Linked DNA regions of Homo sapiens: all the other regions are linked to region 3. Evidence: promoter capture Hi-C in human tissues and cell types (Jung and others, 2019). All regions are on one chromosome and are shown on one strand. The core of a region is centred on a gene start or on the middle of the fragment in contact, and the rest is flanking DNA. Distances in the headings are between cores, read along the strand shown.

The links. Contacts are between HindIII fragments. The study calls those that stand out against the background at their distance.
Region 1: a contact is called between the fragment with the promoter of OAZ2 here and the fragment with the promoter of PPIB in region 3, in 4 of the 25 tissues and cell types used here (dorsolateral prefrontal cortex, hippocampus, lymphoblastoid cells and 1 more).
Region 2: the fragment with the promoter of PLEKHO2 here is called in contact with the fragment with the promoter of PPIB in region 3 in 1 of the 25 tissues and cell types used here (lymphoblastoid cells).
Region 4: a fragment that was not itself captured here is called in contact with the fragment with the promoter of PPIB in region 3 in 1 of the 25 tissues and cell types used here (dorsolateral prefrontal cortex).
Region 5: a contact is called between a fragment that was not itself captured here and the fragment with the promoter of PPIB in region 3, in 1 of the 25 tissues and cell types used here (lymphoblastoid cells).
Region 6: a contact is called between a fragment that was not itself captured here and the fragment with the promoter of PPIB in region 3, in 1 of the 25 tissues and cell types used here (hippocampus).
Region 7: a contact is called between a fragment that was not itself captured here and the fragment with the promoter of PPIB in region 3, in 1 of the 25 tissues and cell types used here (lymphoblastoid cells).

What each region holds. Positions count from the first base shown.
Region 1 is chr15:64,701,863-64,705,069 of GRCh38, reverse strand. OAZ2 (ornithine decarboxylase antizyme 2) reads left to right here and starts at 1,789. Exons shown (of 5, transcript NM_002537.3): 1 at 1,789-2,041. The coding sequence starts at 2,022. It overlaps LOC124903507 (a long non-coding RNA gene), which reads right to left and starts at 527. Exons shown (of 3, transcript XR_007064679.1): 1 at 438-527. RefSeq lists silencers at 1,654-1,973, 1,984-2,203. The HindIII fragment of the contact is 8,869 bases long and covers 1-3,207 here.
Region 2 is chr15:64,839,783-64,843,221 of GRCh38, reverse strand. PLEKHO2 (pleckstrin homology domain containing O2) reads right to left here and starts at 1,307. Exons shown (of 6, transcript NM_025201.5): 1 at 1,194-1,307. The coding sequence starts at 1,205. LOC124903508 (a long non-coding RNA gene) reads left to right here and starts at 3,066. Exons shown (of 4, transcript XR_007064682.1): 1 at 3,066-3,368. RefSeq lists enhancers at 100-651, 684-1,207 and silencers at 1,015-1,454, 1,465-1,784. The HindIII fragment of the contact is 9,878 bases long and covers 1-3,439 here.
Region 3 is chr15:64,161,261-64,164,704 of GRCh38, reverse strand. It overlaps PPIB (peptidylprolyl isomerase B), which reads left to right and starts at 1,683. Exons shown (of 5, transcript NM_000942.5): 1 at 1,683-1,853; 2 at 2,551-2,664. The coding sequence starts at 1,719. RefSeq lists enhancers at 1,169-1,218, 1,325-1,825, 1,769-2,018, 1,826-2,326, 2,560-3,124 and a silencer at 1,359-1,718. The HindIII fragment of the contact is 5,042 bases long and covers 1-2,782 here.
Region 4 is chr15:64,993,156-64,996,109 of GRCh38, reverse strand. No RefSeq gene overlaps it. Among named protein-coding and RNA genes, the nearest start is that of SPG21, 4.7 kb to the right of the region's middle. The HindIII fragment of the contact is 7,563 bases long and covers 1-2,954 here.
Region 5 is chr15:64,970,567-64,973,743 of GRCh38, reverse strand. All of the region lies in intron 5 of SPG21 (SPG21 abhydrolase domain containing, maspardin), which reads left to right. Among named protein-coding and RNA genes, the nearest start is that of SPG21, 18 kb to the left of the region's middle. The HindIII fragment of the contact is 8,694 bases long and covers 1-3,177 here.
Region 6 is chr15:64,722,907-64,725,848 of GRCh38, reverse strand. No RefSeq gene overlaps it. Among named protein-coding and RNA genes, the nearest start is that of OAZ2, 21 kb to the right of the region's middle. The HindIII fragment of the contact is 6,629 bases long and covers 1-2,942 here.
Region 7 is chr15:63,625,851-63,629,200 of GRCh38, reverse strand. HERC1 (HECT and RLD domain containing E3 ubiquitin protein ligase family member 1) reads left to right here. Exons shown (of 78, transcript NM_003922.4): 70 at 386-524; 71 at 3,047-3,216. Among named protein-coding and RNA genes, the nearest start is that of USP3-AS1, 27 kb to the right of the region's middle. The HindIII fragment of the contact is 6,017 bases long and covers 1-3,350 here.

The DNA.
Region 1 (3,207 bases), core at 540-3,039, 540 kb before region 3:
TTTGCTAAGTACTAATGTAAGAACATACCTGACTTGAACCTGGAGGAGTAGGTAGGGATAGCTGAGGGACAAAGTGGAGGATCTTAAAGTGAACCAGAGTATGAGACCAGCCTTGCCTGAATATCTAGTGATAATCCGGGCAGTTTCGGTATCATTTACCACTTTAATTTGTGTTGAAAAAGCCTTAGCTTGGTAGCTCCAGCCTTCCTTCTGTGCCTCCATCCCCATCATCCAAAACCCAAAAGCATGCTGTTTGTGAAGGAGAGTAACCATATCCTGAGATGACTCCAATGTGAGATGTTTGTGAACTGAAAGTCATAGTGACCGCCGATCTGGAGTGTCACCCTTTCTCTGAGTTATCACTCTTTCTGCAAAGCTGTCCCTAATTCCCTAAATTACTTTCTCTGTGGCATTCCTCAGATTGAGCACTTACTTACCTGGTATTGTGATGACCTGTGTCTCTCCCCTTGACCGGATTGTGACATCCAAGGCAGGAACCTTGCCTGGTTGATTATGGCGTATTCTTGGACTCTAGCACATGCCTGGAGCATACAGTAAGTAGCTATTCAATAATTATTTGTTGGCCGGGTGCGGTGGCTCATGCCTGTAATCCCAGTACTTTTGGAGGCCGAGGCAGGTGGATCACCTGAAGTCAGGAGTTCAAGACCAGCTTGGGCAACATGGTGAAACCTCGTCTCTACTAAAAATACAAAAATTAGCCGGGCATGGTGGTACATGTCTGTAATCCCAGCTACTCAGGAGGCTGAGGCAGGAGAATCGCTTGAACCCGGGAGGTGGAGGTTGCAGTGAGCTGAGATTGTGCCACTGCACTCCAGCCTGGGCCACAGAGAGAGACTCCATCTCAAAAATAAGTAAATAAATAAAATAATTATTTGTTGAATAACTGAATGGATGTAATCTGAGGTGACAGAGTGACCCACTGTGATCTGAGATAATGTGACCTCTCTTGATTGCAATCTGGGTTGACTGTGAACAGAGTCGGGGCTTTTGATGATTGTGTTGAAGTGTCTGTGATTGTAACCTACAAGGACTGTGATCTGAGGGGTCTGCGCACCGGTGACTGTGGCCTTCAGGCACTAATCTGTCATAAGGACCAGTAGGGATAATGAATGGAGGTGACTGAACTAGTAACCTTGCATGATCGATTGAAGTAACTTGCACTGATTGTGATCTGAAGTGACCGTGAACAAGTTAGTGACGACGCTTTCCACGACTGTCTTGTTGTGACTGTGCTCATGATCTACAGAGTTCTGGCTTCAGATGACCTAAGCCAGTGCTTGGAGCAGCCTTGACGATTGACATGAGATGTGTGCGAGATGCTGAGATTGTTGATCTACCCTGACAGCTGAGGTTATTGATCTGCATTATGAGCTGAGATAACAGATCTGTGGGCCTGGACTCAGACTAGGAATGGTGCTAATATGTGTGTAGTTCTCTTAAGATTTCTGATTTTGTTTTAATATCCTCCCAAATGGCACAGCCCTGTTCGGCCCCACGCCAACAAGGAATAGGGATGAGGACCAGGTTGAGTCAATCCTCACAGAAAACTACCGGAAACACAACGCATCTTCTGGGCCGCGCTGCCGCAGCTGCGGGCAGACCCACCGCCTTGGTCATGGCCTCCTGCACAGCCTGCCCTTCGTTCGGACCCCCTAGCCCTACCCCCACGATCGGTCCGTGGTGCGCCTGCGCGGAGGCGGGGCGGTGCTTTGCCCTTTGTTGTGGGCCCCAGTTTCCCAGGACACCGCGCGGCGCTGGGGTGGGGCTATGCAGATGAGGCACTCGGGGGCGGGGCGGCGGCGGCGGCGGCGGCGGTGGCGGCCGGGGAGGGTCAGTTGGAGGCAGGCGCTCGCTGAGGCAAAAGGAGGCGCTCGGCCCGCGGCCTGACAGGGACTTAGCCCGCAGAGATCGACCCCGCGCGCGTGACCCCACACCCACCCACTCATCCATCTATCCACTCCCTGCGCCGCCTCCTCCCACCCTGAGCAGAGCCGCCGAGGATGATAAACACCCAGGACAGGTAACGGCCCGGCCCAGGCTCCCCGCCCCCATCCTCCCTCATCTGCTCCAGAGGGCCTCTCACGTACCCCTAGCCGGCCCCCGCCCCCCGCAGCGGGGCCATCCGCCCCCAGCCAGGTCCGTTCACCACTTCAGCCACCCTAGTCCGGTCCTCAGCCCTGCAACTGGGCCTTCTTCTGTCCTTTAGCCCCCTCTTCAGCCGGGCCCATCCCCCTCATCCGGGCCTTCTCCTCCCCTAAAGCCCCCAAAAGCCGGAACCCAACCTTCCAAGCAAGTCCCCTTTTTTCTTTCAGCCCCACCGAATTGTGCCCCATTCCCCAAACTGGGCTTTCCCCGGCATCCAGATTCCCCAAATTGTTTCCTGTCTTCCTCAAATCTTTCTTACTCCCCTTATAAGTCACTTCACCCTTCCCTTTGAATTCCCTCCCTGATGAAAACTGCACCCCCCACCCAGACTCTTCTCATATCACTGCCCCCCGCAAAGTCAACCTCCATCCTTCAGTTCTCAGTTTACCCCCACTCATCACCCTCCCCCCATTCTCTTCAGGCCTAGCAGTCCTTACACAGATGTCCAGCCTCTTCCTCCTGGTCCCATACTTCAGCTTCATCTTTCCCCCACCTTCCCCTCTCCACACCCCTCTCCCAGTTAGGCCCCATTTTCCCAGTCTCCCAGCGCCATTCCTTTTATTTATCAAACACCAGGTTTGATTCTTGTGCTCCATCCTGTTGCCCCAATGGTATACCCCCAACACTCTTGGAAACATTCTTACCCTCTAAACATCTTTTCTCAGCTGGAACTCATCCTTCTCCTTCCCCTCTTAACTGAATCCCGTCTTTGGATCATTAGATCACAGGACCCAGCCATCTCGCTTCCAGTGAACCTTCCCCCTGTACCTCCAGTGCCTTCAAACCAAGCTCTATATTCTGGACACTAGATCTTTGCAATTTCCTCCCTCAAAACCCGACCCTAGTCTTCCCCCATTAATTAGAGAAAGGCTGCACATCTTTCTCAGACCGAGCACCCTGGTTTTCCAAACTTGCATGGTATATCCTTCCCCCTGCAGATAGTTCCTCAATTTTCCTTTCTCTACATGCCTCTCTTTCTCCAAGACAACCCTTCTCACCTATCTCTCCCTCAAATTTTAATATATCCCATATTTCTGCCTC
Region 2 (3,439 bases), core at 58-2,557, 680 kb before region 3:
AGGGGAAGTGACTTATCTACCATCCCACAGAAAGGCAGGGCCTGGCCTAGAGGGAGCCCTGACGGACCACTAGCTGCTCCTATCCATGGCCCTGGAAAAGTGGGAGGTGGGCACTGAAGGGACACAGGCAGTCCGGTCCACTCAGGGCTTCCCAGCTGGCCAGGGTTCCCCCAAGGCAGAGAACTTCATCTTTCCTCCCCATCCAAGGAGGCAAAGACATGCCCCTTCCCTTGGGCTGAGAGGGGCTGAAGCTGGGACCCCCTCAGGGGATAAGAAACAAATTCACCTTCCTCTAGACCCAACAGGCCCCTCATTTTAACTTAATCATTCCACAGGCATATATTAAGTGCTTGCTGCGTGCTGGACCCTCGGATAAAGCGGCTGCTGGCAGAACTGAGTTTGCAAGTAAAGGGCAGGGGCAGGGGCAAGACCCAATCCCAGGCCAAGAGTGTTTTGAGTGGTTAGAAGGAGGCTCCAGGGACACAGTTGGTCCAGCCCTCGGGTGGGGAAGGCAGGGACTAAGATCAGACCCTAGGTGGGCCGGACTCCCGATTCCTTCCCTACAGCTAGCTGCTCAGATGGATGTGGAGCGGGGAGAGAGTGGGGGAAAAGATACAGAGACTTATACAAGGGAGAAAAAAGCAACTTCTCCAATCCTCCTGCCACCAAAGCATGGTCACATCCTTGAGACAGGAACCCCCCAACACACACATACACACACACACAGAGTCAGGATCCGATCCTTGAGACAGGAACCCCCCAACACACACATACACACACACACACAGTCAGGATCCGACACACACACACACACACACACACACACACACAGAGAGAGAGAGAGAGTCAGGATCCGACCACGGTAATCGGGGTTCGAGCCCAGTCACCCAGGCCACTTTCAGCAAGTCATCAATCTCGCTGGAGTCTCAGTCTCCTGGTCAATCCAATGGGAACGGTAACAACCACGACGCCCCACAACTGGTGAGAAAGTCAGCGAGAATGAAGGAGGACGCGGTCTGCGAAGTCCCCGATATGGATCCAGCCCCTCGCCCCTGCCCCATTTGCCCAGGCTCTTCCTGAGGTGAGACTGGCGGGAGTGGGGCGGGCAGGAACGAGGGCCTGAGCCCAGGACCGCAATCCCCGTGAGGGGCTCGAGGACCCCAGCCCAACGCCCCGCCGGGCCCCGCCCTCACCTCCTCCTCCATGGCGAGTCCGCCGAGGTCCCGCCGCTCCGCCACTCGCTTCCAGCGCCGCGCGGGCTCTGCCACCGCGTCTACGCCCGGCCAGGCGGCGACTCTCCGCGTTCTGTCCCGCCGGCTGCCGGGGGCCCAAGAAACTTCGGGGGGGCGGGGCCGGGGGCGGGGTGAGGCTTCCGGGGGCCGGGGCGGGGCCGGGGAGGGGGCGGTGGGGCCGGGGGCCCGGCCCAGGGCGGGAAATGGGTGGGGAGGGGCGGGGCCTGGGTTGGAGACTGGACGGAGGAGCCGGGCGGAGATGCAACTGGAGGAAGAGGGCGGGACGGGGCGGAGAAGGTTTCCCGCATCGGCGGAGGGAGAGGGACTAGGAGGGGGCTGCGGCGGGGGAGGAGAGGGGGCTTCCGGCCCAGAGACTGAGGCGAGGGTGGCGGGAGCGGCGCGCAGGCAGGGCTGGGGTGGGGCGCACACAGTGAGCGCTGGGGGCGCTGGCGGTGGAGCCTTTGAGGTCTCCCGAACCAGTGGGCTGGGGTTGCGAGACCGAGCCGAGCTGCCCTGGGCGGCCAGAGATGTGGGCACACAGAGGCTCCTCCTCTTTCCTCCCCGACGCCGGGCAGTGGGCGGTGGCCTGGTCTTCTCCCTGGAACCTCTGGGCGGGGCCGGGCCTGGAGCTTGGGTCTCTGTCCGGAGGGTGGTGTCACAGGAAGAGCTGGAGCTGAGAGTCGGGACTCCGGGGTCCCTTTAGGGGGCGGCCCGCCCCTGGCTCTCAGGGGTCTCCAAGCGCAGTGTTCTCCTGCTCTCCTTGGGCATCGCTCAATCCCTCCCGTATCTGAGGGTCGACCATCCCCCCGATCCCGCGGTGAGCTTGCAGCCCTGACAGCCTTACTGGAGAGTGGGAGTGTGGGGACCAGCAGAGAGTAATGATTTTAGTTATACCATGCGCCCTCATTTTACATTGGAGAAACTGAGGCCCAGAGAGAGAAAGTAACTGGCTGCATCGCAGCCTGCAGCACCGCTCCCCTCTCACACACACACGCATACTCCCCCTTAGCTCTCCTGGTCAACCCCGTCCCATGCCAAGGAAGGGAAAATTAAGTGCATGTGAGATCAATGGTGACCTTCTTCGGCTCTGGCTGCCATAGCAGCGGCTGTGCCAGCGACCAAGCTCCCCTTTCACGGCCTTCTGCCAGCCCTCAGGCTCCCAGGCTACTTCCAGCCCTGTACGGAAAAGGGCAGCCTGGGGCTCCCAGGCCAAGGGGGAAGGAGATGCAGGTACACTTCTCCCTCATGCCTAGGCCTGGGATCCTTTAGCTAAAGGAATGAAGAAAATTGAGGCTGATATTATCACACTGGTCAAGAAAAAGAAAGAATAGAAAAGAAAGAGAGAGGAAGGAGAGAGAGAGGAAGGAGGGAGGGAAGGAAGGAAAAAAGGAAAGAAAGAAAAAGAAAAGAAAGAGAAATGAAGGAAGGAAAGAAAGAAAAGAAACAAGGAAGGAGAGAGGAAGGAAGGACGGAGGGAAGGAAGGAAAGAAAAGAAAGAGCTGGGAGCGGTGGCTCACACCTGTAATCCCAGCACTTTGGGAGGCTGAGGCAGGCTGATCACCTGAGGTCGGGAGTTCAGACCAACCTGACCAACGTGGAGAAACCCCGTCTCTACTAAAAATAGAAAATTAGCCAGGCGAGGTGGTGCATCCCTGTAATCCCAGCTACTTGAGCGGCTGAGGCAGGAGAATCGCTTGAGCCCGAAAGGCGGAGGTTGCAGTGAGCTGAGATCACGCCATTGCACTCCAGTCTGGGCAACAGGAGTGAAACTCTGTCAAAAAAAAAAAGGGAGAGAGAGAGAAGGGAGGGAGGGAGGGACGCAAGGAGGGAAAAGAGAAAGAAAGAGAAAGAAAGAAAGGAAAGAAAAAGAGAGAAAGAAAGGAAGGAAGGAAAGATGAAGGAAAATTGAGGCTGAGGATCTGAGATAGTCTGTATATGTAGCAACCTCTTTCGGCCACCACATGGTTTTACTCCCTCAATCTGCAGAGCTGTGCAGCATTCTACTCCAATGATCAAGGACTCAGAAGATCTTGTATCTGGAAACTCATGCTCCACCTGCAGCAGACCAGAGACCCTGGGGAAATTCATTTTGTTACACAGAAGCAGCCCTTTGTAGGGAGAGAGCAGTGAGGACAGGTTGGTTTGACATCCAAATAGTTCTGTCATTTTGGGGAATGAGCCATTGAGAACTACTCTGGCCTCAGTTT
Region 3 (3,444 bases), core at 434-2,933:
ACAGTACACTGCAGCCTTGACCTTCTGGGCTCAGGTGATTCCCCCACCTCAGCCTCTGGGGTAGCTGCGACTACAGATGCGCACCACCACGCCCTGCTAATTTTTGTATTTTTTGTAGAGACAGGTTTCACCATGTTGCCCAGGCTCAAACTCCTGGACTCAAGTCATCTGCCTGCCACAGCCTCTCAAAGTGCTGGGATTACAGGTATGAGCTACTGTGCCCAGCTGGAGGCTACTTTGAAAACATGATTTAGTAAACATTTTTCTCTGGCTATGGCAGCCTGAGACCAGTGAGTGAAGAAAGAGGCTTAACAAAATAGGAGAAAAAAAAAAAAAAGGGATGAGAGATGGATCTGGAAGATCATCTTTGTCAGTATAACAATGTTTAAAACTTCCTCCTGATTGGGGTTGTCTGAATTGAGGTGCAAGGATGGGAAATAAGAGAACTGTCTTGAAGCTCTACAACCTGTGTAAGGCCGCTGTAATGAACAACAAAGTTAATGCCAGTGGCCTTGCATAACTTCAGTCTCAGGTCAGCGCCTCATGAAGACTACATTGCATAATTTATGTAAATGGAGCCCTGCCTATAATCTGTGCTGTGACGACCTGGAATTTCTACGAAGTTAATCGTTGAAAATTAGTTTTAAAGACGTTTTAACGCCATAGGTCCAAATTTTGGAAGTTTGTGTTTTGGTTTGTTTTGGTGTGTAAGACTCCCAGTACCAAAGTATCTATGTTGTAGATTGGGACAACACTAAGTGTGTGAAGACCTAAAATAGCCCTGTGGGGACATCTAGTAACTATTCCTGACCTCCGGAAAAAGGCATTGTATCCTCAGGCCGTGGCATAAATTATTTCTCATGTCAGTGCGGATGTGAAGCTATCCCAACCAGGACTTGTTGGGCACTCAGTACTGCCGCGCTGTGAGGGAGCTGTGGACAGAGTAAATGCAACACAGTCCCTTCCGCAGAAAAAAAAAAAAATGTAGTCTATTGGGGGAAAAGGTAAAGGAAGTTAAGAACAGCGTATACAATAAGATGTCCATTGATATACACAACAGTAAGCACAGCAAGATTACAGAAGGGAGAGAAAAATGGGTAGTAACTTGACGGCCTCAGTAAAAAAGGAAGTGGGTTGTGCAGCAAGTTTTGCAAGACAAGTGGAGGAGCCGTACAAGGCCACGCTCGGTAAGGATAAATGTCCCTGAAGTGTTTGGAAGCCACAACGTTTAGAGCCAATTTGGCGGTGACAAACACTTGACTGGCCCAAAACAGTGACAAGCTTCCCGTGCCCCTTGTCCAGGCCCACGTATTTGCTAACCTCAAGCGCCAGCTACCGCAGGCCAGTGGAACAGCGCTCCGGGCGGGGCGGGCCGCGGAGCATGCCGGGGCTTGTGGTCTTCTCGGAGCCCGGGCCCGTGCTCTGCGAGGCCGCCTTCCGCCGGTGGCCTTCCTGTGGGCGGGAGAGGGCGGCCGGGAGCCCAATGAGGGAGCAATAACGTGGCAACCACCCACGAGCCCGCGTCGGTGCCCGCCCCGCAGGGGGACCTACTATCCGGCGCCGAGCCGGAGGGGGGAAACGGCGCCCGCCGCCCGCCCGGAGCCCGCGAGCAACCCCAGTCCCCCCCACCCGCGCGTGGCGGCGCCGGCTCCCTAGCCACCGCGGCCCCACCCTCTTCCGGCCTCAGCTGTCCGGGCTGCTTTCGCCTCCGCCTGTGGATGCTGCGCCTCTCCGAACGCAACATGAAGGTGCTCCTTGCCGCCGCCCTCATCGCGGGGTCCGTCTTCTTCCTGCTGCTGCCGGGACCTTCTGCGGCCGATGAGAAGAAGAAGGGGCCCAAAGTCACCGTCAAGGTCCGGTGGAGTCCGCGGCATTTACGGTGCCGGAGCTCGGGCCCGGGCGGCCTTGGCTTGGCCTTGGCTCAGCCCCTCCTCCCTCGGCTTCTGTCTGTGGCCTCGTGGCGTCTGGGCCGTCCTGCCCATTCAGTCCAGGGAACGACCCGGACCCACCCCGACACCCCCAGCCCCTGCCCTGACCCAGGGAGTTAGTTGGATCCCCGGATACCCATCTGGGGCCGACACTGGCAGTCTCAGAGCAGGCTTTTTGCAAACACCCCTCAGTGCTGGGGAGATGGTGAAAGATCACGCCTGCCGGATTCCGAATCCTTTCTCTCCTTAAGCCAAATTTTAGCCACTTCCAATTACAAAGCACAGTATGTATACTTCAAACTTAAGTGGTGAACTTAGGCTCCGCTCCTTATGGGTTTTCTAATGTTAATTTTTAGAATCTGGGTCCATTAGCTGTTTAGAGCAAATATTGTTATCCTGTAGTCCAAGGAGGGTATAGATAAGCATGTTTTCCAAGAAAAGGGTCTGGAGCTTTCATTAGATTCTCATAGGATTTTTACCGTCACCAAAATCAGATTCAGAACCACTTCTCTAAAAATATGGCTCTATTCTCTCTCCCATCCTCAGGTTAGCTTCTTGTACCTTCCCTCCCCTAGCAACGCCCCTTTAAAGAAGCTAAGTTGGAAATGGTCTCTTTCCTCAGGTGTATTTTGACCTACGAATTGGAGATGAAGATGTAGGCCGGGTGATCTTTGGTCTCTTCGGAAAGACTGTTCCAAAAACAGTGGATAATTTTGTGGCCTTAGCTACAGGAGAGGTAAGTGGCTGGAGCAGGGGTAGTCAACTCACATGAAGTGAAATTGGCACTGGGGATGGCAGCAAACTGACCTGCAGAGTTCAGCCGATCTGTAGCGTGGACCTCACTGAGCACCGACTGCCTGTTGCCCTGGGAACACAGTATTGCCCTTTCTTAAGAGTAATGGGGCCCTGACCAGGCACAGTGGCTCACACTTAAAATCCCAGCACTTTTGGAGGCCAAAGTAGGAGGATTGCTTGAGCCCAGGAGTTCAAGGCCAACCTGAGCAACATAGCAAGACCCTGTCTCTACCCCCGCAAATTTTTTTTTTTTTTTGAGACGGAGTTTCACTCTTGTCGCCTGGGCTGGAGTGCAGTGGTGCGGCCTCAGCTCACTGCAACCTCCGCCTCCCGGGTTTAAGTGATTCTCCTGCCTCAGCCTCCTGAGTAGCTGGGATTACAGGCATGCGCCACCACGCTTGGCTAATTTTGTATTTTTAGTAGTGACAGGGTTTCACCATGTTGGCCAGGCTGAACTCGAACTCCTGACCTCTGGTGATCCGCCTGCCTTGGCCTCCCAAAGTGCTGGGATTAGAGGTGTGAGCCACTATGCCCGGCCAAAAAAAATTTTTTTTAATTAGCTGGGTGTGACGGGGTGCACCTGTGGTCCCAGCTACAGCTACTCAGGAGGCTGAAGTGAAATGGAGGTTGCAGTGAGCCATGTTCATGCCACTGCACTCCAGCCTGAGCAATAGAGTGAGACCCTGTCTCAAAAAAAAAATAAATTAATTAAAAATAAAAG
Region 4 (2,954 bases), core at 247-2,746, 830 kb before region 3:
CAATACTAGGATTAGAACCCAAAGACTACAGGAGATTTTGTTTTAAAGAAGGATTTTATTCTTCATTTGGTTTGGGGGACAAAAGAAACATTTCTGAGCATAAAATTGAGTTCTCGAGAATAGCTACCCAAAGGATGTTTGTTGCTTTATACTTTGTATTTAAGTCAGTTCAACCTATTTTCACCATTTTTCTTCATATTTATCAAACAATTTCAAGGTGAAAATATATGACTTTGAGGGGCAGAGTCTTAGAGTCAACAAACCTCACATGAGCCTAGCCCTGCCACTGACTGTAAGCCTAGGCTGGTTACTGAGCCTCTCCATGTATGGCCCTATCCATGAAATTAAAATTGTACCTACTTTGCAAAGATTGTCATGAGGAATAGAAATAATATACTTGGTTAGGCGTGGTGGCTCACACCTATAATCCCAGCACTTCGGGAGGTCTACGAGGGAGGATCACTTGAGGTCAGGAGTTCGAGACTAGTCTGGCCAACATGGCAAAACTCTATCTCTACTAAAAATACAAAAATTAGCTGGGCATGGTGGTGCACGCCTGTAATCCCAGCTACTCGGGAGGCTGAGGCAGGAGAATCGCTTGAAGCCGGGAGGCAGAGGTTGCAGCGAGCCAAGATCAAGCCACTGCACTCCACCCTGGGTGACAGAGTGAGACTCCATCTCAAAAAAAAAAAAAAAAAAGAACTCACCTAGCACAGTGTCTGAAGAAACACAGTAGGTTCGCAATATCACTATTATTAGCTAACATTTTTTGAGGGCTAGCCATGTGTGTAAGGACTTGACCTGGACTGTCTCATTTTATCTTTACAATAACCAAGTGAAGCAGATACTGTTATTGATCCTCATTTTTCCAGAATTTTAAATAGCTACTCAGCGGTGGAGCTGGAACGTATGCCCTGGTAACCTAGATTCCAATCAGTGTGCCTAACTAATCTATTGCCATGAGTCTATTTGCAAATATTTTTATCCTTGATTAGGGAATTTAATGTGTTTGGCTTTGGTGCTCAGAAAAAAAGAAATGGGAACACATGCCAATTGAATGCCCATTATATGCAGGTACTATGCTAGACAATTTCAAAAATATTTTATTTTAGTTACTATTTCATCAGTCTTATTTTTTTTTATTTTTATTTTTTTAGAGACAAGATCTCACTATGTTGCCCAGGCTGGAGTGCAGTAGCTATTCATAGGCACAATGATCACACACATAGCCTCAAATTCCTGGGCTCAAGTATCCTCCTGCCTCAACTTCCCAAATAGCTGGGACTACAAGTATGCACCACCATGTCCAGGTAATCACTGTCTTTTTTTACCTCTAAGATTTATAAAGTTTTCTAAGACACCACAGATAGAAGCTATCTTTTGTAGTAAAGAAGTGCAGCTCTTGCTTTCCACTAATTTTTATTGCTGCTCTTCTACCAGAAGGTAGATTATCCATTGTTATTTACATTAATTATTTACATTGTTTACATTGTTGAAACATTGAGATGCTAGGTTGACAGATGATACAAAATATGTGGTACCTTTGCTTAGAAACTTTTATTCTAAAAAGTTAATGGACAAACGTTAACTTTTCTGAGAGATTAAAATACTGCTTCCGTTAAATAAGCATTTTTGTGTGTAGGCTGTTTTTTTTTGTTTGTTTGTTTGTTTGTTTTGAGACGGAGTCTTGCTCTTTCGCCCAGGCTGGAGTGCAGTGGCACTATCTCGGCTCACTGCAATCTCCGCCTCCCGGGTTCACACGATTCTCCTGCCTTAGCCTCCCGAGTAGCTGGGACCACAAGCGCCCGCCACTACACCCGGCTAATTTTTGGTATTTTTAGGAGAGACAGGGTGTCACCGTGTTAGCCAGGATGGTCTCAATCTCCTGACCTCGTGATCCACCCACCTCGGCCTCCCAAAGTGCTGGGATTACAGGCATGAGCCATCGTGCCTGGCCTGTTTTTTTTTTTTTTTTAAAGTTTGATTGGAAGCAAGAAGGAGGAGGAATATTATCAGAGAAGGGCAGCTTTGAGGAAAGACTGCTGTAAAGATGTAAAGATCCTTATTTTTTTTTTTGAGATGGAGTTTTGCTCTTTTTGCCCAGGCTGGAGTGCAATGGTGCGATCTCGGCTCACTGCAATGTCTGCCTCCCGGGTTCAAGCGATTCTCCTGCCTCAGCCCCCTGAGTAGCTGGGATTACAGGCACATGCCACCACCCTGGCTAATTTTGTATTTTTAGTAGAGACAGCGTTTCTCAATGTTGGTCAGGCTGGTCTTGAACTCCCAACTTCAGGTGATCCACCTGCCTCAACCTCCCAAAGTGCTGGGATTACAGGCGTGAGCCACCGCGCCCAGCTGTAAAGATTCTTTGACAAATCTCTTATAAATTTATAAAATCTAAAATCTTAGAATTGGAAAGAACTTACAGATAATTTAGTTTAGCCTTGGCCTCATTTTACAGAGAAGGAAACCAGACCTAGCAGAGGATATGTTTTGCTCAAAGATAAAACTCAGGTTTCTGAACTCCTAGATGACAACTAATACATTATTAATTAAAAATAACTATATATAACTTCTGTTTGATAATGCCTTTAGGTAGTAACCTCTAAAATAGCCACATCAGCATTTTTCTAAGCCAGTTCCTGAATACCCACTTTGTGTCTGATTCCTCCAATCCAGTGCAGTATACATTTTACATAGACTTGGTCTGGCAATGAGGAAAGAGCATTCATTTTCAATCTTGGGTCTCAGCATAATTTGGTATATAACACTGCAATCGACTGTACCCTGTAAAGCTTTAAGGGGATGGTATTCCAAGAATTAGTATTAGTCTGAAAAAGCAAGTGTTTTGTTTCTCTTTCACTTTTTTACACATCCGTGGTTCCTGGGGGTAAAATAAATGTTTTCACTCTAATGGGTGCACTGGAGGGAGGCATTCTAAATGGAAGGAAGGC
Region 5 (3,177 bases), core at 536-3,035, 810 kb before region 3:
GGTGCGGTGGCTCACACCTGTAATCCCAGCACTTTGGGAGGCCGAGGCGGCCGGATCACCTGAGGTCGGGAGTTCGAGACCAGCCTGACCAACGTGGAGAAACCCTGTCTACTAAAAATACAAAATTAGCTGGGCAAGGTGGCACATGCCTATAATCCCAGCTACTCAGGAGGCTGAGGCAGGAGAATCACTTGAACCCAGGATGCGGAGGTTGTGGTGAGCCGAGATCACGCCATTGCACTCCAGCCTAGGCAACAGGAGCGAAACTCCATCTCAAAAAAAAAACAAACCAAAAACAAAATGGTGGAAATGCTTTGGGTGCAGCCAGTGGGGTACTTGTTTCCTAGGAGCCATCCTTTCATTGATTTTATCATTTTAAGTAATTGGTAGGTATCTATGATGCCATACAGCTGGCTTACTGTGCACTTCTTTCATTGCTGGCAAGGCGAGGCTCTAGCCTTAAAATAAAGCCCAGTGGCCAGGTGTGATGGCTCATGCCGTACTCCCAACACTTTGGGAGGCCAAGACAGGAGGATCACTTCAGGCCAAGAGTTTGAAACCAGCCTGAGCAACATAGTGAGACCCCATCTCTACAAATAACAATAATAATAAATTAGCCAGGTATCATGGTATGCACCTGCAGTCCTAGCTACTCAGGAGGCTGAGGCAGGAGGATCGCTTGAGCCCAAGAGTTCAAGGCTGCAGTGAGCCACAACTGTGCCTCTGTACTCCAGGCTGGGTGACAGAGCAAGACCCTACTTCAAAAAAAAAGCCCAGTGAGTAAACACATCTGTATGATCAGTGTTTTCAAATAATGTATAGGGAAATATCGTTTTCACATCTACTTAAAATTGCACTCTGATATTTTTTAGTTTTTTTTGTTGTTGTTTGTTTTTTTGTTTGTTTGTTTTTGAGATGGAGTCTCGCTCTGTCGCCCAGGCTGGAGTGCAGTGGCACGATCTCAGCTCACTGCAAGCTCTGCCTCCCAGGTTCACGCCATTCTCCTGCCTCAGCCTCCCGAATAGCTGGGACTACAGGCGCCCGCCACCATGCCTGGCTAATTTTTTATGTTTTTAGTAGAGACGGGGTTTCACCGTGTTCACCAGTATGGTCTCGATCTCCTGACCTCGTGATCCGCCCGCCTCAGCCTCCCAAAGTGCTGGGATTACAGGCATGAGCCACTGTGCCCAGCTATTTTTTAGTTTTTCTGATGTTATCTTAGTAATTACTCAGCATTCATGCAACAATTTCTTGTATACATTAGCTACTTTACAAATCCTTCCCGTCCAGATAATGCACTAAATAATGCTCATTATTTTTGGTGATTTTTATTGCTGTTCTAATTGTTAGAATGCCAAGACAGCCCCCATTCAGTTTGTGCTCTGGCACATCAGCTGCTTATTGTCAAATATCTGAGTGCTTACTGTGTGCCACACACTGAGGATCCAGGAGTGAGCAAAGTCAACAGGGTCCACCCCTTACAGAGCGTACTTAGACCTCATCACCTTCAAAAGATAAGAAAGTGATGGGGCTGGGAGAGAACTTAGAAAGTTAACTGGAAGGTGACCTAGTGGTCCTTTTGAGGGAAGCTCAACTTCCAGCAAGGCTGTCCCAGTGGTAATAAGCATCAGAAGGTAGTTTGCACCTCATCTAAGTAATTTTCGTCATAGGTTTACAGAAATTAGTGTTTGCCCTCCATGATGGCTCTTAACAGTTGAAATTAATGGAATAAATATAAACTAAAGATCATATATAGAAATCCGTAAAGATCTGACCAGTCACAGTGGCTCACACCTGTAATCCCAGCACTTTGGGAGGCAGAGGTAAGAGCATTGCTTGAGTCCAGGAGTTCTAGACCAGCCTGGGCAACAGAGCAAGATCCTGTCTCTACAGAAAAAAAATTTTCTTTTTTGAGATGGGAGTCTCGCTCTGTTGCCCAGGCTGGAGTGCAGTGGCACGTTCTCACTGCAGCCTCTGCCCCCCAGGTTCAAGTGATTCTCCTGCCTCAGCCTCCCAAGTAGCTGGGATTACAGGCGCTGGCCACCGCCCCTGGCTAATTTTTGTATTTTTAGTAGAGACGGGGTTTCACCATCTTGGCCAGGCTGGTCTTGAACTCCTGACCTTGTGATCACCCACCTTGGCCTCCCAAAGTTCTGGATTACAGGCATGAGCCATTGCGCCTGGCTCAGTAAATTTTTTTTTTTGGAGACGGAGTCTGGCTCTGTCGCCCAGGCTGGAGTGCCATGGCACGATCTTGGCTCACTGCAAGCTCCATCTCCTGGGTTCACGCCATTCTCCTGCCTCAGCCTCCCGAGTAGCTGGGACTACAGGCGCCCGCCACCAAGCCCGGCTAATTTTTAGTATTTTTAGTGGAGACGGGGTTTCACCGTGTTAGCCAGGATGGTCTCAATCTCCTGACCTCGTGATCTGCCCACCTTGGCCTCCCAAAGTGCTGGGATTACAGGCATGAGCCACCGTGCCTGGCCCCGGCTCCCCCAGCTCAGTAAATTTTTAAAAAATTAGTCAGGCCTGGTGGTACGAGCCCGTAGTCCCAGCTACTCGGGAGGCCAAGGTAGAAGGATCACTTGATAGGAGTTTGAGGCTACAGTGAGCTATGATCACAATACTGCACTTCAGCCTGGGCAACAGAGTGAGACCCTGTCTCTAAAAGTTTTTTTTTAAATTTTTTAATTAAAAAATAAAAAGAGGCCAGGAGTGGCTCACGCCTGTGATCCCAGCACTGTGGGAGGCTGAGGTGGGTGGATCACTTGAGGCCAGGAGTTCACCACCAGTCTGGCCAACATTGCAAAAGCTCATCTTTACTAAAAATACAGAAGTTAGCCGGGCGTGGTGGCATGTGCCTGTAGTCGCAGCTACTCGAAAGGCTGAGGCATGAGAATTGCTTGAGCCCGGGAGGCAGAGGTTGCACCCAGCCGAGATCATGCCACTGTACTTCCAGCATGGGTAACTGACTGAGACTCTGTCTCAAAAAATAATAACAATAATAAATTTAAAAAATAAATCTATAAATATCAATTTGCCTTGAATTAGCCAAGTTGAATCTAATAGTAGCAAATTTGGGGAGGTGCAATAGCTTTCATATTGGTATTTTGAAATCTGTTTTGAAATATCAATCGATAAAAACATAATATCAACCAGAAGGAAAGAATACTTCTC
Region 6 (2,942 bases), core at 373-2,872, 560 kb before region 3:
TAATTTTTGTATTTTTAGTAGAGAGGAGTTTTGACATGTTGGCCAGGCTGGTCTCGAACTCCTGACCTCAGGTGATCTGCCCACCTCGGCCTCCCAAAGTGCTGGGATTACAGGCTTTTTTTTGTTTTTTTTTTGAGACAAGTTCTCACCCTGTTGCCCAGACTGGAGTGCAGTGGTGAGATCATGGCTCACTGAAGCCTCGACCTCTCAGGCTCAAGTGATCCTCCCACCTCAACTGCCTGAATAGATGGGATTACAGGCATGTGCCATCACATCTGCCTAATTTTTGTATTTTTATTTTTATTTACTTGTTTATTTTTTTGAGAGAGTCACCCTCTGTCACCCAGGCTGAAGTGCAGTGGCACGATCTCGGCTCACTGCAACCTCTGCCTCCTGGGTTCCAGTGATTCTCCCTCACTCTCCCGAGTAGCTGGGATTAAGGTGCACGCCACCACACCGGGTTAATTTTTTTTTTTTTTTTTTTTGAGATGGAGTCTTGCTCTGTCGCCCAGGCTGGAGTGCAGTGGTTGGGATTACAGGTGCGCACCACCACACCTGGCTATTTTTTTTTTTTTTTTTTTTTTTGAGACATAGTCTCGCTCTGTCACCCAGGCTGGAGTGCAGTGGCTCGATCTCGGCTCACTGCAACCTCCGCCTCCTGGGTTCAAGTGATTCTCCTGCCTCGGCCTCCTGAGTAGCTGGGACTACAGGTGCAAGCCACCATGCCCAGATAATTTTTGTGTTTTTAGTAGAGACGGGGTTTCACCATGTTGGTCAGGCTGTTCTGGAACTCCTGACCTTGTGATCTGCCCGCCTCGACCTCTCAAAGTGCTGGGATTACAGGCATGAGCCACCGCACCTGGCCTAATTTTTTGTGTTTTTAGTAGAGACGGTGTTTTGCTATGTTGGCCAGGCTGGTCTTAGACCTCTTGCCTGAAGTGATCCTCCCGCCTCAGCCTCCCAAAGTGTGGGATTACAGGTGTGAGCCATCGTGCCTGGCTAATTTTTGTATTTTTAGTAGAGATGGGGTTTTGCCATGTTGCTCCGGTTGGTCTCAAACTCCTGGGCTTAAGTGATCCACCTACCTCAGCCTCCCAAAGTGCTAGGATTATAGGCATGAGCCATCATGCCTGGCCCTTCATCCTAGATCTTAGGAGATCTAGTATGTTGTTGATCTGGTATTTGGTATGTTGGAGATCTGGTATTTGGTATGTTGGGAGATCTTGTATTTGGTATGTTGGGAGAGCTGGTATTTGGTATGTTAGGTGATCTGGTATTTGGTATGTTGGAGATCTGGTATTTGGTATGTTGGAGATCTGGTATTTGGTATGTTGGTGATCTGGTATTCGGTATGTTGGGAGATCTGGTATTTGGTTTGTTGGTGATCTGGTATTTGGTTTGTTGGTTGATCTGATATTTGGTATGTTGGGAGATCTGGTATTTGGTATGCTAGGTGATCTGGTATTTAGTATGTTGGAGATCTGGTATTTGGTATGTTGGAGATCTGGTATTTGGTATGTTGGAGATCTGGTATTTGGTATGTTGGTGATCTGGTATTTGGTATGTTGGTGATCTGGTATTTGGTATGTTGGGAGATCTGGTATTTGGTTTGTTGGTGATCTGGTATTTGGTTTGTTGGTTGATCTGATGTTTGGTATGTTGGGAGATCTGGTATTTGGTATATTGTCTTGATGTGTAAAAATCTCTGGGAATTCAAACAGAAACAGTTTGAAATAGTGATTTCAATATTGAGAAAGTGAATGACTCAAATGACTGTATTATAGATCCTTTCTACAAACTAAAGCTTTCCCAATATTTTGCTTTTGAATGGAAGGACCTGAAACAAATTTTGTTGTCATCTGCTTGATGATTAGGTGGTATTGAGTGACTCTGCTAGAACTTCTTCCTTTCCCAGGTACTTATGTGAATAAGATACCTCAGCATTACCATGTGTGAGATTGAAACGTTGAAATAAAATTGAGCCTAGCCAGGTGTGGCGGTATGTACCTGTAGTCCCAGCTACTCAGGAGACTGAGGCAGGAGGATCACTTGAGCCTAGAAGTTTGAGGCTGCAGTGAACTACGATCATGCCTGTGAATAGCTACTGCACTCCAGCCTGGGCAACACAGTCAGACTGTCTCAAAAAAAAAAAAAAAAAAAAAAGACAACAATAACAACGAAAACACAGCCTAAGCATAATGGCTCATACCTGTAATCCCAGCACTTTGAGAGGCCAAGGCTTGAGCCCAGGAGACCAGCCTGGGCAACAAAGTGAGTCCCTGTCTCTACAAAAAATTAGTTGAGCATGGTCATGCACACCTGTATTCCCATGTACGTGGGAGGCTGAGGCAGGAGACTGCCTGAGCCCAAGAGGTCGAGGCTGCAGTGAACCACATTTGCACCACTGCACTCCAGCCTAGGCAACAGAGCAAGACTCTGTCTCAGAAAAACAACCAACCAGCCAACAAAAACATTGATGCTTATCACTGTCTCACTCTAGCATGAGAACATCTCTCTCAATATAAGTTGTATTTCCTATACAATTTTGTGTCTTATATTTAAGAATTCTTGGCCGGGTGCAGTTGCTCACGCCTGTAATCCTAGCTAGCACTTTGGGAGTCTGAGGTGGGTGGATCACCTGAGGTCAGGAGTTTGAGACTAGCCTGACCAACATGGAGAAACCCTGTCTCTACTAATAATACAAAAATTAGCTGGGCGTGGTGGTGCATGCCTATAATCCCAGCTACTCGGGAGGCTGAGGCAGGAGAATCGCTGGAACCCGGGAGGCAGAGCTTGCGGTGAGCTGATATCGCGCCACTGCACTCCAGTCTGGGCAACAAGAGTGAAACTCCATCTTGGGGGAAAAAAAAAATGCTGGGCGCAGTGGCTCACGCCTATAATCCCAGCACTTTGGGAGGCTGAGGTGGGTGGATCACCTGAGG
Region 7 (3,350 bases), core at 364-2,863, 540 kb after region 3:
AGGTGGGTGGATTGCCTGAGCTCAGGAGTTCAAGATCAGCCTGGCCAAGATGGTGAAACCCCATCTCTACTAAAAATACAAAAATTAGCCAGGTGTGGTGGCGGGCACCTGTAATCTCAGCCACTTGGGAGGCTGAGGCAGAAAATTGCTTGAACCAGGGAGGCAGAGCTTGCAGTGAGCTGAGATTGTGCCACTGCACTCCAGCCTGGACAACAGAGCAAGACTCCATCTCAAAAAAAAAAAAAAAGAATGTGTTTTATTGATGCTGATGCATGGTACAGTTATTAACTTATTTATGTCTGCCACCATCTAAGAAAAATTTCATATTGACTTCCTCTCTTCCTCTTTCTAATTGAATGTCTGTATATTTGTGATTTATTCCCAGCTCGGCTTAGGCCATACCAACCATGTTCGAGAACCAACCCTGGTAACAGGTCTGCAAGGGAAAAATGTTCGGCAGATCTCGGCTGGCCGCTGCCACAGTGCTGCATGGACAGCACCACCTGTCCCACCAAGAGCACCAGGTGAGGAATGAAATATTCATGCTCCTGCAGCGTTTCTTTTTTAGCAGTACCCCATGGCACTGTCTGCTTGCCAGTTCCCAACTGTATCCAGCATCGTTGTGAAACCATCAAGCCTTCTGCCACACAAAGCATTCTTTGTGCTACTAGCACTGGAAGTATTTTCATAGCAGGCATTTGTTCTGCTGACATCAGTATGAACCACGTCCTCTCTGCACTCCCAAAAGCAGAATACATATTACTTATGCAAGCAAAAATTTATAATTTTAGCAGCAACTAAGTTTTTTTTTGAGATGGAGTCTTGCTCTGTCACCTAGGCTGGAGTGCAGTGGTGTGATCTCAGCTCACTGCAGCCTCCGCCTCCCAGGTTCAAATGACTGCTGCCTCAGCCTCCCAAGTAGCTGGGACTACAGGCATGCACTACCATTCCTGGCTAATTTTTTCTGTTTTTAGTAGAAACGGGGTTTCGCCATGTTGGCCAGGCTGGTCTCAAATTCCTGACCTCCAGTGATCCGCCCGCCTCAGCCTCCCAAAGTGTTAGGATTACAGGCATGAGCCACAGCGCCTGGCCGGTATTTTTAATATATAAAAGAAATGACAAATTATAGCTTTCTAAGGCCCACTGTTAGAAATAAAGATTAAAAGCCCTGAGACCATTTGTCAAATTCCTCACCTTAGTTAACCATTTGAAACATGATGTCTGTGCATTGGCACAGCAGTCAACTTGCTGCCATTTTATTCCTGTGTTTAGCAAGACTGGTGGGCTACTTCAAGCTTTTTGTTGTTTGTTTTATTTTTAATTTATTATGAAATTTTTGTATAGCTACACAAAGATTTAAAGAAAACCATAATACATACTTGTGTGCTCAACACCCAACTGTGGGCCCTTTCTGATTTGATCTATCTTCCATTCCTTCCAGATGTAGCTGTTACCTTAATGTTGTGACATTTGTCATTCTTACACATTTCTTCATATTTGGGCAGTTTCCTTTTTTTTTTTTTTTTCGAGACAGAGTCTCACTTTGTTGCCCAGGCTGGAGTGTAATGGCGCAATCTCGGCTTACTGCAACCTCTGCCTCCCGGGTTCAAGCGATTCTCCTGCCTCAGCCTCCCACGTAGCTGGGATTACAGGCATGTGCCACCACGCCCAACTCATTTTAATATTTTTAGTAGAGATGGTGTTTCGCCATATTGGCCAGGCTGGTCTTGAACTCCTGACCTCAAGTCTGGAGTTCAAGCCTCAGCGTCCCAAAGTGCTGGGATTACAGGTGTGAGCCACTGTGTCCAGCCTATTGGACAAGGCCCTCAAGCCTTGTCTTTCTACCATCTTCTGGTGTCTAAGGCACTAGAATTTCCCTGAAGCAACATTGTGCCTAAGAGCTCAGCATTCTCTTCCAGTTTTGTTAACCCCTCTATTTCTTAGGGGGGGTCCTAAGATTCCCCATAGGGATTTTGTTTCTTAGATATCTAAGAGAGAAAAGTGGGAATTCCAGGTAGATGCCAAACAAGCAGGAAATGGTTTCTATTAACAGAATCTAGAATGAGCAGAGCTGCCTACGCACTGACAATTTCAGGTACTCAGTGGCTTCAGAGGGATTTCACTTCCACTTTAGGGCAGAAGCTATCCAGTGTGACAGGTAAAGGTTCAAGCTCTGGGGCCACATTGCTGGGGCTGAATCCCAGCTCCTCCACATATGATCTGAGTGACCTTGAGACTCAGTGTTTTGTCTGTAAAATGAGGATAATAATAGCACCTACTGCAAAGAGCTGTAGAAGTAAGTGGCCCCATTCATGTAAAGCTCTTAGAATAGTGCCAGGCACATAGAAGGTACTCAGTAAATGTTAGTTTTTACTACGAACAATAATAATAAATCTAGGAATTGCACTGTACCAGTCTTTATTTACAGGAAACTGAAGTGAGTTTGTATCTTGTTTTTATTCTTTTATGTGTTTTTATAGGAGGGTAGCTGTGGCTGCAGGCCTTGTAGTCTTTGCTTCTTACAGAACTCTTATTCTTGTAGTAAAAGCCTCATGAATCATGCACCTATATGTTTCTGTCATGAATACTTGCTATCAGATCCCTAGTGAATATGGAGTTGGCTCTGCTAAGTTTCCCATTTCCATTTTCCAGAACTGCCTACTTAGTCCTTGCCCACATTTGTGGTATTATGAAGATGACAATTATTAAATATGAAAGGAAAAATTTGGCTTTATTTTTGTGAAAGAACTGCCTAAGTTCTATTGTTAAATAAAATGGGAAACAAAAAGAGAAAATACCAGGTTTCATTTCCATAATAATGAAGACATTTTATTTTATTTTATTTTTTTCTCCGCCCCCTGATAAAGACATTTTAAAAACCAACACAAATGCACACACCAAACTAAGATGAATCGATGGATAGAGGTTTGAATGGGTGTCCATTGTGTAATTATCTCAACTTCTCTGTATGCTTGAAATTTTTCAAAATGTGAAAAGTGAAAGCAATGCTGTTTCCTTCATAAGTGCCCATTTGCTTTCTGGACAGGTGTGTCAGTACCTCTGCAGCTGGGCCTGCCTGACACAGTGCCCCCCCAGTATGGGGCGCTGAGAGAAGTCAGCATTCACACGGTGCGGGCCAGGCTCCGGCTGCTCTACCACTTCTCTGACCTCATGTACTCATCCTGGAGACTGCTGAACCTTAGCCCCAACAACCAGGTAACAGACTGGCGTGGTAAGCAGCCAGGCACAGACTGGCTTGGTAAGCAGTGCCCGTGACATGCTCGCCAGGCCCCAGGGCCTTTCCCTCTGCCTTTGGAAAATTCTTTCATGGCTAATAAGATAACACTTCT